Linked DNA regions of Homo sapiens: all the other regions are linked to region 1. Evidence: promoter capture Hi-C in human tissues and cell types (Jung and others, 2019). All regions are on one chromosome and are shown on one strand. The core of a region is centred on a gene start or on the middle of the fragment in contact, and the rest is flanking DNA. Distances in the headings are between cores, read along the strand shown. Region 1 holds the start of KLF17 (KLF transcription factor 17). Region 2 has its middle 20 kb from the start of KLF18. Region 3 has its middle 38 kb from the start of KLF17.

What was found. Contacts are between HindIII fragments. The study calls those that stand out against the background at their distance.
Region 2: a fragment that was not itself captured here is called in contact with the fragment with the promoter of KLF17 in region 1 in 1 of the 25 tissues and cell types used here (mesendoderm cells).
Region 3: a fragment that was not itself captured here is called in contact with the fragment with the promoter of KLF17 in region 1 in 2 of the 25 tissues and cell types used here (mesendoderm cells and thymus).

The regions. Positions count from the first base shown.
Region 1 is chr1:44,116,228-44,120,979 of GRCh38, reverse strand. KLF17 (KLF transcription factor 17) reads right to left here and starts at 2,159. Exons shown (of 4, transcript NM_173484.4): 1 at 1,992-2,159. The coding sequence starts at 2,072. It also overlaps the pseudogene RN7SL479P. RefSeq lists an enhancer at 846-1,613 and a promoter at 2,182-3,170. The HindIII fragment of the contact is 4,517 bases long and covers 845-4,752 here.
Region 2 is chr1:44,159,328-44,164,079 of GRCh38, reverse strand. No RefSeq gene overlaps it. Among named protein-coding and RNA genes, the nearest start is that of KLF18, 20 kb to the right of the region's middle. The HindIII fragment of the contact is 5,737 bases long and covers 1-4,752 here.
Region 3 is chr1:44,078,162-44,082,913 of GRCh38, reverse strand. It overlaps a transcript of KLF17 not described here. Among named protein-coding and RNA genes, the nearest start is that of KLF17, 38 kb to the left of the region's middle. The HindIII fragment of the contact is 4,690 bases long and covers 1-4,231 here.

The sequences.
Region 1 (4,752 bases), core at 910-3,409:
TATGTTGCCCAGGCTGAAGTGCAGTGGCTATGCCCAGGTGTGATCGTTGTGGACCACAGCCTAAAACTCCTGAGCTCAAACGAGCCTTCTGCTTCAGCCTCCTGGGCTGCTGGGACTACAGGTGTGAGCCACCATGCCCAGCCTTATCTGTTTTATTTACCACTATATGCTCAGCAACTAGCATAAGACAGACATATAATAGGAACTAGGTAAATGACTATTGGGTGGGCACCTCTGGGGTGCTCAGCCTCTCCTCCCTAACTCTCAGCAATGGCCCTCTTGTTTTCCCAGTCCTTCATGGCAAATTAAGTTGTCTAAACATGCCTTCACCACTACTTTGCCTTATGAGTCTCCCAAATTTGCTCTGGCCTCTATCTCTCCACAGAACCAGCTTTCATAAAGGTCACCACTGATGACTTCCATCCCACTATGACCAAGCAGCACTTTCCAGACTCCTCGCTTGAACTCTCAGGAGCTTATACGACCACTGGCCACACCCTTCTTAGAATGCTTGGCCTCTCTAACACGCATGGCCACACTTTCCAAGTTTTTCTCCTTCCCTTCTCTCAGACCCCCTCCTTCACAGTTTCTTTTGCAGATTTCCCTTTCCCTGCTCTCTCTGGGCAAGCTTCCCCATGCCAGTGGTTTTGTTTCTGTTTACAGTCCAACTATTCCTAAATCTGGAATCTTCGCTCTGGCGAAGATGGCTCCTGAATTTTCCAGCTACCTATTGTTTGAGTCCTTTCGGATGGCCCACATGCTCTTCTAATGGACTATGGCCAAAATTCACTAGCATCTTTGCCCACCTCCCTCAAACAACAAATTAATCTTGTCCTTCTCATCCTTCACTCTCTCTCAGAAAATGTCACTATTGTCACCCAATTGTGCAAGCAAGAAATCTGTTACTCTAGATGTCTCCCTCACCACCCGGGGACCAATGATTGTGGTCTCTGCCTCCAAAACATCTCCACAATCTATGATATATTTAGCTTCTCCATCTCCACTCTCACTTCTGCAGGTAGGCCGCCATTTGAATTCTCACCTGGATTATCACAAAAGCTTTCTAACTGTTGCCTTGAATCCAGCCCACATCCACCAGGGCACTCCTTTGAAAATGCAAATCTAATTGAGACAGATTATGTTTAAACTCATCAATGGCTTCCCACTGTTCTTGGAATAAACAAGCCCTGAATGATCTCAATGGTGTCCCTGGGGCCACCCTTCCATCACTGTCTAGGCCCTGGTCTTTCAGTTCCTCCTAAGAGGAAGCATGCAGCCTGTGGTCTCAGACCTGGGAACCTTTCACCTGACGGGTTCTTTAGTCCCAGAACAGAGTCTCAGCTGTCTCCTAAGCCTCCCAAATCGGGTCAAACACCTCTGGTATCTGCTCCCACGCGCCCCTGACTTCTTCTTCATGTAACGCTGTACAATTCCAATCATTCAGTTAACGATTTATTCATACAATTTTATATATATCTGTTTCATGGTAAATTCATCATTGTATTTCCAGGGTCTGGGAAAAGCCTACCACTTAGTAGGGCTCCAATTAACATTTTTGGGGTTTTTTTTTTTTTTCCTGTTGTTTCCTGCTCACTTCCTAACTTGGTCTTTGCTGTCCTGCCTACTCAAGTCCCTCACCAGAAAGTTGCCTAGAACCCTCTTACCCGCCACGCGGCCAACACAAGCTCTACTGCTGGGCGAACATTGTTGGAATAAACGACGTATGATTTACACCCTCAATCTCACAACCCTCCCTTTCCAATCCCTCCCCAGTCTCCCATCCCTCCCTTTGCAACCCCTCCCCAATCTCCCATCCCTCCCTTTGCAACCCCTCCCCAATCTCCCATTCCTTCCTTTGCCACCCCTCCCCTCGGATTTCTACCCCTCGGGTTTCTGCTTCCCTCCGCCTCACCTCTCCTCCAAGGCCTCCCCTCCCCGCCGCCCCCTAGCCTGGGCCCGCCCGGCCTGCCAGGGGCTGGCACCTGACTCACCTGGGCAGCCTGGTGCGCCGCCTGCCACCGGCTCAGCTCCCCAGCCTCCTGTTCCATCTCAGCCTGCGGTCGGCCGTACATGAAGACTGGGTGGGGTCTAGACTCTCTACTGAAGAGACAGGGAACCAGCCACCACGGCGTCGCAGGCGGGTATCGGTACATCGCCACGCCACAATCACCTTCTATTTACCTATTTACAGCTGCGCCAAGGGGCGGGGTCAGGCCCCACCCGTCCCGCCCTGCGCCGCCCTCGCAGCCCTGCCCCAGGCTGCCACCCACCCTCACCATGCCCCAACCAAGGCAGCCTCACGGACAGCCAGCCACTTCAGGCCTTGAACGCTTCTTAAAGGAATTTGGTCCGCCCACCCAACCGACCCATTCCACCCCTCAGTCTGAGCAACTGTTTCACCCAAGTGGGGACTGAGGACACCCAGGTCTCCAACTCCAGCCAGGAGGAGGCTGGAGAGAGAGGCGAGGCTGGAGAGAGAGGCAAGGTTGGGTGTAGGGCCTCTACCGATAGGAGAGCCTCCACCAGCACTCTCTCAGGTCGGGATCTTGCCATAAGCTTTGGAAGGGCTGGAGCTTTTCTGCTACAGTCTGTGCACCTCTGTCCCTTGTCTGTACGAACTGAAGACTGGGAGCTTCATGGCACAACCTGTTTATTCCGCAGTGTTTACTGAGTGCCCCGTGTGTGTTGGGCACTGATCTCTGAACTAGGGGTAAAATAGTAAACAGGACAGAACAAAGTCCTTGCTGTCAATTTCCATCTTATACGGGAAGACAAGAAATGAGTAATAAAGTTGTTAACTATTATAATTTTAGGTGGTGGTGAGTGCTATGGAAAACCAAAACAGAAATGTGAGCTGAAAATGAAATGCCTGAAAGGAGCCAGCCATAGGAAGATTGAAGGGCTCTAAGGCAAAAAAGAGCCCAACGGTGCTAGAAGGAAATTGAAGGCAAGGTGACCACGGTGATACCACATGGACAGTGACACGAGGACAGAGGGATAGGGCCTTGAAGACCATAGAAAGGAATTTGGATTTTATTCTAAGTGTGGCGGGAAGCCACTGATGCTTTTAAACAGGAATTTGATGTGATCTGATATATGTTTTTAAAATAAACCATTTGGCTCCTTATGGATTATAAAGGGCCAGAGGGGTGCAGAGACACCAGTTAGAAATCTAAAGGAGATGAGGCTGGGCGCAGTGGTTCACGCCTGCAACGCCAGCACTTTGGGAGGCTGAGGCGGGCAGATCACTTGAGGTCAGGAGTTTGAGACCAGCCTGGCCAACATGGTGAAACCCCGTCTCTACTAAAAATAAAAAATTAGCCAGGCGTGGTGGCGCGTGCCTGTAATCCCAGCTACTCAGGAGGCTGAGGCAGGAGAATCGCTTGAATCCGGGTGGTGGAGGTTCCAGTGTGTCGAGATCGCGCCATTGCACTCCAGCCTGGGCAACAAGAGCAAAATTCCGTCTCAAAAAATAAAATAAAATAAAATATAAAATAAAATAAAATAAAATAAATAAAATAAAATAAAATAAAATAAAATAAATAAAAAAGGAGCTGTCCAAGAAAGAGATGTCAGTGTTTGGTCATGGAGGTGGTGCCCACCTGTAGTCCCAGCTACTCAGGAGGCTGAGGCGGGAGACCACTTGAGCCCAGGAGGTCTGGGCTGCAGTGTGCTGTGCTGATTGGGTGTCCACACTAAGTTCAGCATCAGTATGGTGAGCTCCCAGGAGTGGGGCACCACCAGGTTGCCTAAGGAGGGATGAACTGGCCCAGGTCAGAAATAGAGTAGGTCAAAACTCCTATGCTGATTGGTAATGGGATTACTACACCTGTGAATGGCCAGTGCACTCCAACCTTGGCAACATAGTGAGATCCCATCTCTAAAAAAAAAGAATGAAAAACAGAATTTGTAATGGATCAGAAGGGGGTAGGGAGGGAGGGAAAGAGGAATCAAAAAGGCTCCTAGATTATTGGCTTGAGCAACTGCATGATGATCGTGCCACTTGGTATATGGAAAGATAGGAAGAGGAGCAGATTTGGAGGCAACTGAAACAAGAATTCCATTTTAGACACTGATTTTGAGATGTCTATTAATTATGCTCAGAGAAGGTCAGGGCTGTAAATGTAAACTTGGGTGTTGTCAGCATAGAGATGGTAGTTAGAAGGCCATTAGAGTGGATGCTATCAACACTGGAGATAGTTTGACAACAGGACAGAGGACAGAGCCTGGGGACTCCTACATTTAAGGCCCAGCAGAACAGCAAAGTCATCCAAAGAACCTGAGAGGTTGAAATAAACAGGTAAGTGACTACTGGATTTGGCAAGACGGAGGTCACTGGTGACTCTGACAAAACCAAGTGCAGTAGAAAGGAAGCCTGATTGGACTGGGCTGCCAAGGGAAGAGGAGTTGATGGAGTGGGACATTATCTCTAAACTCTAAACAAGAAGTTTTGCTACGAATGAGAGCAGAAAAATGAGGTGGCAGTTAAGGGAGGGCATGTTATAGGCTGATGGGGATGCACCAAAGGAGAAACTGATATAGAAACAGAGGGCTCAATTATAAGAGCAAAGTCATGGATGAATCAAGAAAGGACAGGATCTGGAGTACCAATAGACAAGTGGGCCTTTAGTGAGAGCAGGGACATTTGCTCTATCATAACAAGTGGGGTAAGAAGGCTCTTATGTATCTTAGGGTCCCCAACTACTAGTATGGAGTGGGGCTGAGAGCAGGCCCTTGAGAAATGGTGGCTAT
Region 2 (4,752 bases), core at 1,049-3,548, 43 kb before region 1:
TATAACAGGGACTAAACAAATCCATTGTATCAATAAATGCAAATGAGCTTAAAAGACCTATTAGAAGAAAACAAAAATAAATGATTGATAAGTGGATTAAAATAAATGGATTAAACACACAACTCAAAAAAGAAAAGAATGGTGAAGCAAATTGAAAAAATACAGAAGGATGAAATTGCTAAATATGAAAACAGGAAATATTGATCAGAAAACAGAAAAGTCTACATAATAAAAAGTATGCTAATCAAGCAATTAAAAATTAATTCTTTGAAAAATATCAAAGCTATAGAAAACAATTATATAGCATAAACAAATAAGAAATGACAAGCGGGTGGGATGCAGTGGCTCATGCCTATAATCCCAGCACTTTGGGAGGCGAAGGTGAGGGGACTGCTTGATCTCAGGAGTTCAAGGCCAACCTAGGCAACATAATGAGACCCTGTCTCTACAAAACAAATTAAAAATTAGCTGGGCATGGTAGCACATGCCTCTAGTCCCAGCTACTTGGGAGACTGAGGCGGGAGGATTGCTTGAGCCCAGGAGGTTGAGGCTGCAGTGAGTTGTGACCGCACCATTGCACAGCCTAGGCAACAGAGTGAGATCTTGTTTCAAAAACAAATCAACAACAACAACAACAATAAAAACCAAATAAATGACAAGTGAGAAATAACTATTGAAAGGAGTAAATACAAAGTAATAAGGGTTGGGTGCAGTGGCTCATGCCTATAGTCCTGGCACTTTGGGAGGCTGAGGTGGGTAAATCGGTTGAGCTTAGGAGTTCAAGACCAGCCTGGGCAACGTGTGAAAACCCTGTCTCTACACAAATACAACAACAACAAAAAAATTAGCTGGGCCTGGTTGCACGGTGCCTGTAGTCTCAGCTACTCAGGAGGCTGATGTGGGAGGATCACTTGAGCCCGGGAGATTGTGGCTGCAGTGAGCTGTGATTGCACTCCAGCCTGGGTGATAGAGTGAGAACCTGTCTCAAAATAAAATAATAAGATCATAATGACATCAGGGAAGGTGGCAGAGTAGAAAACATCAGGAATCAATCTCTCTACCTAGTCAATTGTACTGACAGAATCTGTCTAATATAACTATGTTGGAACTCTGGAATCTATCACAAGGGTTGCAACTTCCAGGGGAAGACTGTGGCTAATTTCAGTCAATTTCAGCTCTCACACTTTTGGAGCAACTTGGACTTGGCTTGCAGGAGCCAGGGTAGGCAATAAGAACCTTGTCTTCCATGTATCTGGGATCTATGTTTTGATCCCTGATTGCTGCTTCTGATGGTAGAGGTGTAGTCACAGAAGTGAGCTGCCATTGTTGTAACCCCCATTGTCATTTTTACAATCCACACTGGAAAAGTGACTTCCAGGAGACTTAAAAAGCCAATGACTGGCTTTCCTCCCCTTCATCTTTCCCTTTTCCCCCTTTTAGGGGCCAGACATTTAAGGACTAGGACATCCGAAGTAACTACATACACAAGGGAATAGGGAAAGTCACCATGCATGTCCAGGGAAAGGCATAGACTCAGAGAAGACCTTCAATTTATTTCTCAATCTTATCCCCAGCTTAGAGACACCATACAACCATGAAAATAAAATAAAATAAAACAGCATGCCTTTTTTATCCATGTGCCAAAAAAGAAAGCAAACCCTGGGGAAGGAGAGAATTTTATTTCCAGAGTTACCACATTATAAGATTCAAAAGTCCAGTTTTCAAATACAACAACAAAATCACAAGACATACAAAGAAACATTAAAGTATGGCCCATCTAAGGAAAAAAATGTCAACAGAAAACATTCCTCAGCAACTGTCTTAAAGATGCTCAAAGAGCTAAACGAAGAAGTGGACAAAGTCAAGAAAATGATATATGAATAAAATGAAAAAATTTTTCAATATTTATTGAAAAATAAAGAAAAAACATAAAAAGGAACAAAAAATTCTGGAGCTGAAAAGTACAATAACTACAATGTAAATTTGACTAAAGGGATTCCAAAAGCAGATGTGAGTAGGTAGAAGAAAGATTCAGACCAACATATGCACTGTAGGAGTTTCAAAAGAAAAAGAGGGAAAGGGAAAAAGGAATTTTTTTTTTTTTTTTTTGCAGAAATAAGGGCTAGAAATGCCCCAAACTGGGTGAAAAACATGAATACAAACATCCAAGTTGCTCAACAAAGTTGAAGTGGAATAAACTCAAGAGAGGTCCCACCAGGAAATATTATAGTCAAACTGTGAAAGGCCAAAGGCAAAGAGAAAATCTTGGAAACAGCAAGGAAGAAGCAACTGTTTACATACAAGAGATTCTGAATAAGATTGTCTCCTGATTTCTTACCAGAAACTGTGGAGGCCAGAAGCCAGTGGATCAATATATGCAAAATGTTGAAAGGAAAAAACTGTCAAGCAAGAATCCTTTACCTGGCAAAACTGTCCATCAAAAATGAAGAAGAAATTAAGAGGCCAGCCATGGTGGCTCATAACTGTAATCCCAGCACTTTGGGAGATCAATATAGGTGGATCACTTGAGCCCAAGAGTTTGACACCAGCATGGGTAACATAGTGAGACCCCATCTCTACAAAAAAAAAAAAATACATATACCATTATAAAAGCTAGTATTACTGTAACTTTGATTTAAAACACCACATTTTGTTTATATTATTTAAGAGACTAAGCATTAAAAAAATCACTAAGAAGCTTGTGTTTTTGGACATACAATGCACAAAAATGTAATTTTATGACATCAGTAACTGAAAGGGATGGGCACAGAACTGCATAGGAGCAGAGTTTTTGTATGCCTTTGAAGTTAAGGTGGTATAAATTCAAATTAGGTTGGGCACGGTGGCTCATGCCTGTAATCCCAGCACTTAGGGAGGCCAAGGCAGGTAGATCACCTGAGGTCAGGAGTTCAAGACTAGCCTGGCCAACATGGCAAAACTGCGTCTCTACTAAAAATACAAAAGTTAGCCGTGGTTGCACACTTCTGTAATCCCAGCTACTCGGGAGGCTGAGGCAAGAGAATCGCTTGAACCCGGGAGGCAGAGGTTGTAGTGAGCTGAGATTGCACCACTGCACTCTAGCCTGGGCAGCAGAGCAAGACTCCATCTCAATAAATAAATAAATAAATAAATTCAAATTAGTGTTATAATTTTAGGATGTCAAATGTAATTTTCATGATAACCACAGAGAAAATATCCATAACATATGTACAAAAGGATACACACACACACACAAGCATTTAAAACTTTTCACTACAAAAATCTTAACTAAACACAGGACAGTAATGCAAGAAATGAAGAACACAAAGGGTATAAGGCATATAGAAAACAAAAGCAAAAGGGCACAATTAAATCCCTCTTTGTCAGTAGATACTTTAAATGTAAACGGATTAAACTCTCCAATCAAAATACAGAAATCAGCATAATGTATAAAAAACATGAATCAAGTATATGATGTCTACAAGAAATCATGTTAGATAAAGACACAAATAGGTTGAAAGTAAAAGGATGGAAAAAGATATTACATACAAATAGTAAACAAAAGAGAGTGGGGTGTCTATACTAACATCACACAAAACAGACTTTAAATCAAAAAAGTTTACACAAGACAAAGAAAGGGATTACATATTAATAAAAGGTAAAATAAAGCATGAAGATAAAACAATTATAAACATTTATGCACTTAACAACAGACCATCAAAATATATGAAGCAAAAACTGATAGAATTGAAGGGAGAAAGAAACAGCTCTACAATAATAGTCAGAGACATCAGCTGGGCCTGGTAGCTCATGCCTGTAATCCCAGCACTTTCGGAGGCCAAGATGGGCAGATCACATGAGGCCAGGAGTTTGAGACCAGCCTGGCCAACATGGCAGAAACCACTGTCTCTACTAAAAATACAAAAATTAGCTGGGCGTGGTAGTACATGTCTGTAATCCCAGTTACTCAGAGGCTGAGGCATGAGAATCGCTTGAACCCAGGAGGTGGAGGTTGCAGTGAGCCGATGAGATCAGATGGTGCCACTGCACTCCAGCCTGGGCTATAGAACAAGACTCCCTCTCAAAAAAAAAAAGAAAGAAAGAAAAAATCGGAGACCTCAATACCCCACTCTCAATAATGGATAGAACCATCAGACAGAAAATAAGGAAAGAAGCAGAGGACCTGAACAACACGATATACCAACTAGATCTAACAGACATAGGCAGAACACCCAACCCAACAACAACACAATACACATTCTTCTCAAGCGTACATGGGCATTCTCTAATATAGACCATAGAGTAGGCCGCAAATCAATTCTCAGTAGATTTTTTAAAAATAAATATGATACAAAGTACCTTATCTGACCACAAAGGTAAGTTAAAAATCAGTAACAGAATAAAAACTGAAAAATGCACAAATCTGTGGAAATTAAAAAACACACTCTTAAATAATCAATGTGTCAAACAAGAAAGCCTAGAGAAATTAGGAGATAGAGACAAATGGGATTAAGAACACACTATTTTCATTTGCACAATAAATGAAAATACCTAATGACAATATGAAAACTTATGTGATGTAGCAAAAGCAGTGCGAAGGGAGTAATATATAGCTGACAATACTTAACATTAAAAAAGAAGAAAGATCTCAAATCAGGCCATGTGCTGTGACTCACATCTGTAATTCCAGCACTTGGGTGGCCATGATGGGTGGATTCCTTAAGTCCAGGAGTTTGAGACCAGCCTGGGCATGGCAAAGCCCTGTTTCTACAA
Region 3 (4,752 bases), core at 637-3,136, 38 kb after region 1:
CCCCCTCTGCTCTATGAACAAGAGACCAAATGACGAGGTCAGCTTTACCAAGCAGTTATCACAGTGCTGGTCACATTTTCCCTTCTGAATGTATCAGTTTGGTTTGGGGTCGCGTTTCTAAGGTAGAGACAACTTGCCTTACCAAGGTAATAAGGATCTTCCCCTCCAGAAAGAACAGAATTATCAAAAAGATCAAGAAAAGTTTCAAAATGACTGATGGACCTTTGTCTGAATATTGGTGTATGGCTTTTGTGTGTCAAAAATCCAGGGATAAAAATATGACACTTTTCTTAAACTATCCCTTCTGTTCATAAAGAAACTTCCTATCTCTGAGTGTTGAATCTGTTCTCAGGGAACCCCCATGATACCAATGTCCCTCATCTAGGGAGGCTTTTGAAGCCTGGGGACATACACAAAATTGTTTCTGACTGCTGCTGGTCTAGGACCAATAAAACCCTCCGAATGCACACAGTCCCCGGTGTAATTTCCAATACTTCCACACTCTTTCCACAAATAGCCACCACCATTAAAGGGTTTTAATGTTTCATTCAAAATGGATTAGTTCCTGTGGCCAATAGCCAATGTAATTATAATGAATGTTGTATTAATCCTTATGATATTTCCCTGAGTTCAATACATCACTGTATCTTAATCTTCCGCTATTCAGTTGCTCAATTACCCAATTAGACTGTTGGTGATCATTTACTGGGACTTATTTCATCTGTGGTACATGAGCTTACTTTTGGTTCCTAAGGAATTGGTCTGGCTTATGTGATTATGGGGATATTATTCTGGTTATGCACCACTTCTAGTCTCTCCCCTAAGCAAAATTATGGAATCTCGGAGAAATAACTGAAATGGAAAGGCTCTGGACATTAACTTTCCCAATATATGGTGTTGCCAGGTCCATTAAGAAAAATTATTTAACATTTTAGAACAAGTTGGTAATGTCACATATAATAACATTCTAGATGATGTAACAACAAAAAAGACTTCTGCCACTAGCGGTATGGCTCACTACATATTTTGAAAAGCTCTTCTTTAAAATATATTGATAGTGGATACATTTCAACAAATAGATATTTATACACTTAGGAGTACAAGGAACTAAGGAAAATCTCTAGGAGCCTGAAACAAACACAAAAAGCTGAAATCGGTGATGTGCCCATATGGAAACAAGACTACCATGGGGAGGCCAAGTGCAGTGGCTCATGCCTGTAATTCCAGCACCTTGGGAGTCTGAGGCAGGTGGATCACTTGAGGTCACGAGTTCAAGACCAGCCTGGCCAACATGGCAAAACCCCATCTCTATGGGAAAAAAAATACAAAAATTAGACAGGTGCGGGGGTGGGCACCTGTAGTTCCAGCTGCTTGGGAGGTTGAGGCAAGAGAATTGCTTGAACCCGGGAGGTGGAGGTTGCAGTGAGCCAAGATTGTGCCACTGGACTCCAGCCTGGGTGACATGAGACTCTGTCTCAAAAGAAAAAAAAAAAAAACTACCATGGGGAAAATGCCAATACTAGAAACCTAGAGCTTTGAGTTTTGAGCTAAGCTTCGTTTAAACCTAGTGCTTTAAACTAAACAGATTTAGTTTAACATGAGATAGTGTTACAGAACCAACAATAACAAAACAGATTAACTAAATCTGTTTAACTGAATCTGATTAACTAATTTTTTTTTTTTTTTTTTTTACAGGATCTTGTTCTGTTACCCAGGCTGGAGTGCAATGGCGCTATCTTGGCTCACTGCAACCTCTGCCTCCTAGGCACAACAGATTAACTAAATCTGTTTTGTTACTCTATCTTACAGTGGTATACTTCCTCATGCAGTAGATTTTCTTTCATATTAGTTGTCCATTTTGATTAAATTAACATATAAGATTAAATTATGTAAATTTGAGGTGGGGTGCGGTGGTTTCTGCCCATAATCCCAACACTGTGGCAGACCAAGGTGGGTGGATTGCTTCAGTCCAGGAGTTCGAGACCAGGTTGGGCAACATGGTAAAACTCCATCCCTACAAAAAATACAAAAATTAGCCACGCATGGTGGCACATGCCTATAGTCCCAGCTACTTGAGAGGCTGAGGCAGGAGGATTGTTTGAGCCTAGGAGACAGAGGTTGCAGTGAGCCGAGATCACGCCATCGCACTCCAGCCTGGGTAACAGAACAAGATCCTGCAAAAAAAAAAAAAAAAAAAAAATTCAATATAATTCACCATGAATTAAAGAAGAAAATATGAGATCATCCAATTAAAGGCAGATAAAAAGGATTTGATAAAAATTCAACATACTTTTAAAGAAAATTAAAATAGTGGAAGGACATGCTTTATCAGCTACCAAGACTTATTGTAAAATACGATAATTAAGACACAGAGAGAGCCTGGTGCTGTGGCTCACGCCTGTAATCCCAGCACTTTGGGAGGCCAAGGCGGGCATATCACGAGGTCAGGAGATGGAGACCATACTGGCTAACATGGTGAAACCCCGTCTCTACTAAAAATATAAAAAATTAGCCAGGGGTGGTGGTGGGCGCCTGCAGTCCCAGCTACTCGGGAGGCTGAGGCTGGAGAACGGTGTGAACCCGGGAGGCGGGGCTTGCAGTGAGCCTAGATTGCACCAATGCACTCCAGCCTGGACGACAGAGCAAGACTCCGTCTCAAAAAAAAAAAAAAAAAAAAGACACAGAGGGGCCAGGTACGGTGGCTCACGCCTGTAATCTTAGCACTTTGGGAGGCTAAGGTGAGTGGATCACGAGGTCAGGAATTTGATACCAGCCTGGCCAACATGGTGAAATCCCATCTCTACTAAAAATACAAAAATTAGCCACGCATGGTGGCACGCACCTGTAATCCCATCTACTCAGGAGGCTGAGACAGGAGAATTGCTTGAACCCAGGAGGCAGAGGTTGTAGTAAGCCGAGATCACGCCACTGCACTCCAGCCTGGGCGACAGAGTGAGACTCTGTCTCAAAAAAAGAAAAAAAAAAAAGACATGGAGGGATTAGTGCAGGCACAAATAGAAAAATGGGTAAAACAGACAGGCTAGAAATGGACCCAAGCATATATGGATTCCTGATATATGACAGAGCCGTCACCAAAGAACAATAGGGGAAGGATGTTCTTTCCAAAACATGGCACTCAGACAATTGGCTATCTGGATGGAAAAAATGAAGTTGAACTCTGATCTCATACCATATATGAAATATTTTCCAGGAGGATTAAATCTGACTGATTTGTCAATCAGGTTCCGGTCAGGAAAAAGAAACCATACCAGTAATTTGAACAGGGAAATTTTAATATAAAGAATTACTAGGCCAGGCGTGGTGGCTCACGTCTTGTAATGCTAGCACTTTGAGAGGCTGAGGTGGGAGGATCGCTTGAGCCCAGGAGTTTGAGACCAGCCAGGGCAACAGAGTGAGACCTCACCTCTATGAAAAATAACAAAAAATGTAGCTGAGCATGGTGGCGGTATGTGCCTATAGTCCCAGCTAGTTGGGAGGCTGAGGTGGGAGAATTGCTTTAGCCCAGGAGGTCGAGGCTGAACTGTGATTTGCGCCAACACACTCCAACCTGGGCAACAGAGCAAGACTGTCTCAAAAAAAAAAAAAGGAGAAGAAAAGAAAAGAATGATTAACTAGTCACAAGGGGTTAACTAAATTATATGTGCAGAGAACTCCGAATAATACAGGCATAGCAGATGTAGGGAGCAGACACCCTCTCTATGGTGAAGGCAGAGTACCAAGGAAAGGAGTAAGCTTGGAATAGAGCTGCCCATGAATTAAAGAAGAAAATATGAGATCATCTAATTAAAGGCAGAAAAAAGGATTTGATAAAAATTCAACATACTGTTAAAGAAAATTAAAATGGAGGAAGAACATACTTTATCAGCTACCAAGACTTATTGTAAAATATGATAATTAAGACATGGAGGGGCCAGGCACGGTGTCTCATGCCTGTAATCCCAGCACTTTGGGAGGCTGAGGCTGAGATTCAGACCTCCCTGTAGAGGGTGTCACTGTGCTCCACTGGATGGGAGAGAAGGTACCACAGACCAGGGTGGCAGGAAGGAAACGGTCCACTGGGGCACTGGTGAAACTTGCTAGGAAACCACCTGTTGTGGGGGTGCCTAGCTGGGAAGCTGCCTGCTGGCATCCACACCAGTGGAACAAGAAGGAAAAGCGGCCGGGCACAGCAGCTCGTGTCTGTAATCCCAGTACTTTGGGAGGCCGAGGTGGGCAGATCATGAGGTCAGGAGATTGAGACCATCCTGGCTAACACGGTGAAACCCTGTCTCTACCAAAATACAAAAAATTAGCCGGGCGTACTGGCACGCACCTATAGTCCCAGCTACTCAGGGGGCTGAGGCAGGGGAATTGCTTGAACCCAGGAGGCGGAGGTTGCAGTGAGCCGAGATTGCGCCACTGCACTGCACTGCAGCCTGGCAACAGGGCAAAACTCCTTCAAAAAAAAAAAAAAAAGAAGAAGGAAAAGCCCCAGAACCGGGAAGAGGAGCCCCTTCCTCTGGCAATGACCCTCCAGCAATTTCTTCTGGCAAGATCTACCATTGTGTCAGGTGACAAAGCAGAAATGTTTACAAGGTCTGGCTCCAGTATCACAAAGCAGGGCAAAGAAGATTGGATTTGGAGTCAAGCAGCAATAAATTGCATAGTAACTGTGTAACTACCTAAATGTGAAAGGCAAAATCATAAAGCTTTCAGAAGGCATTATAAAAGAATAGCTTGCTTCATGGTTTC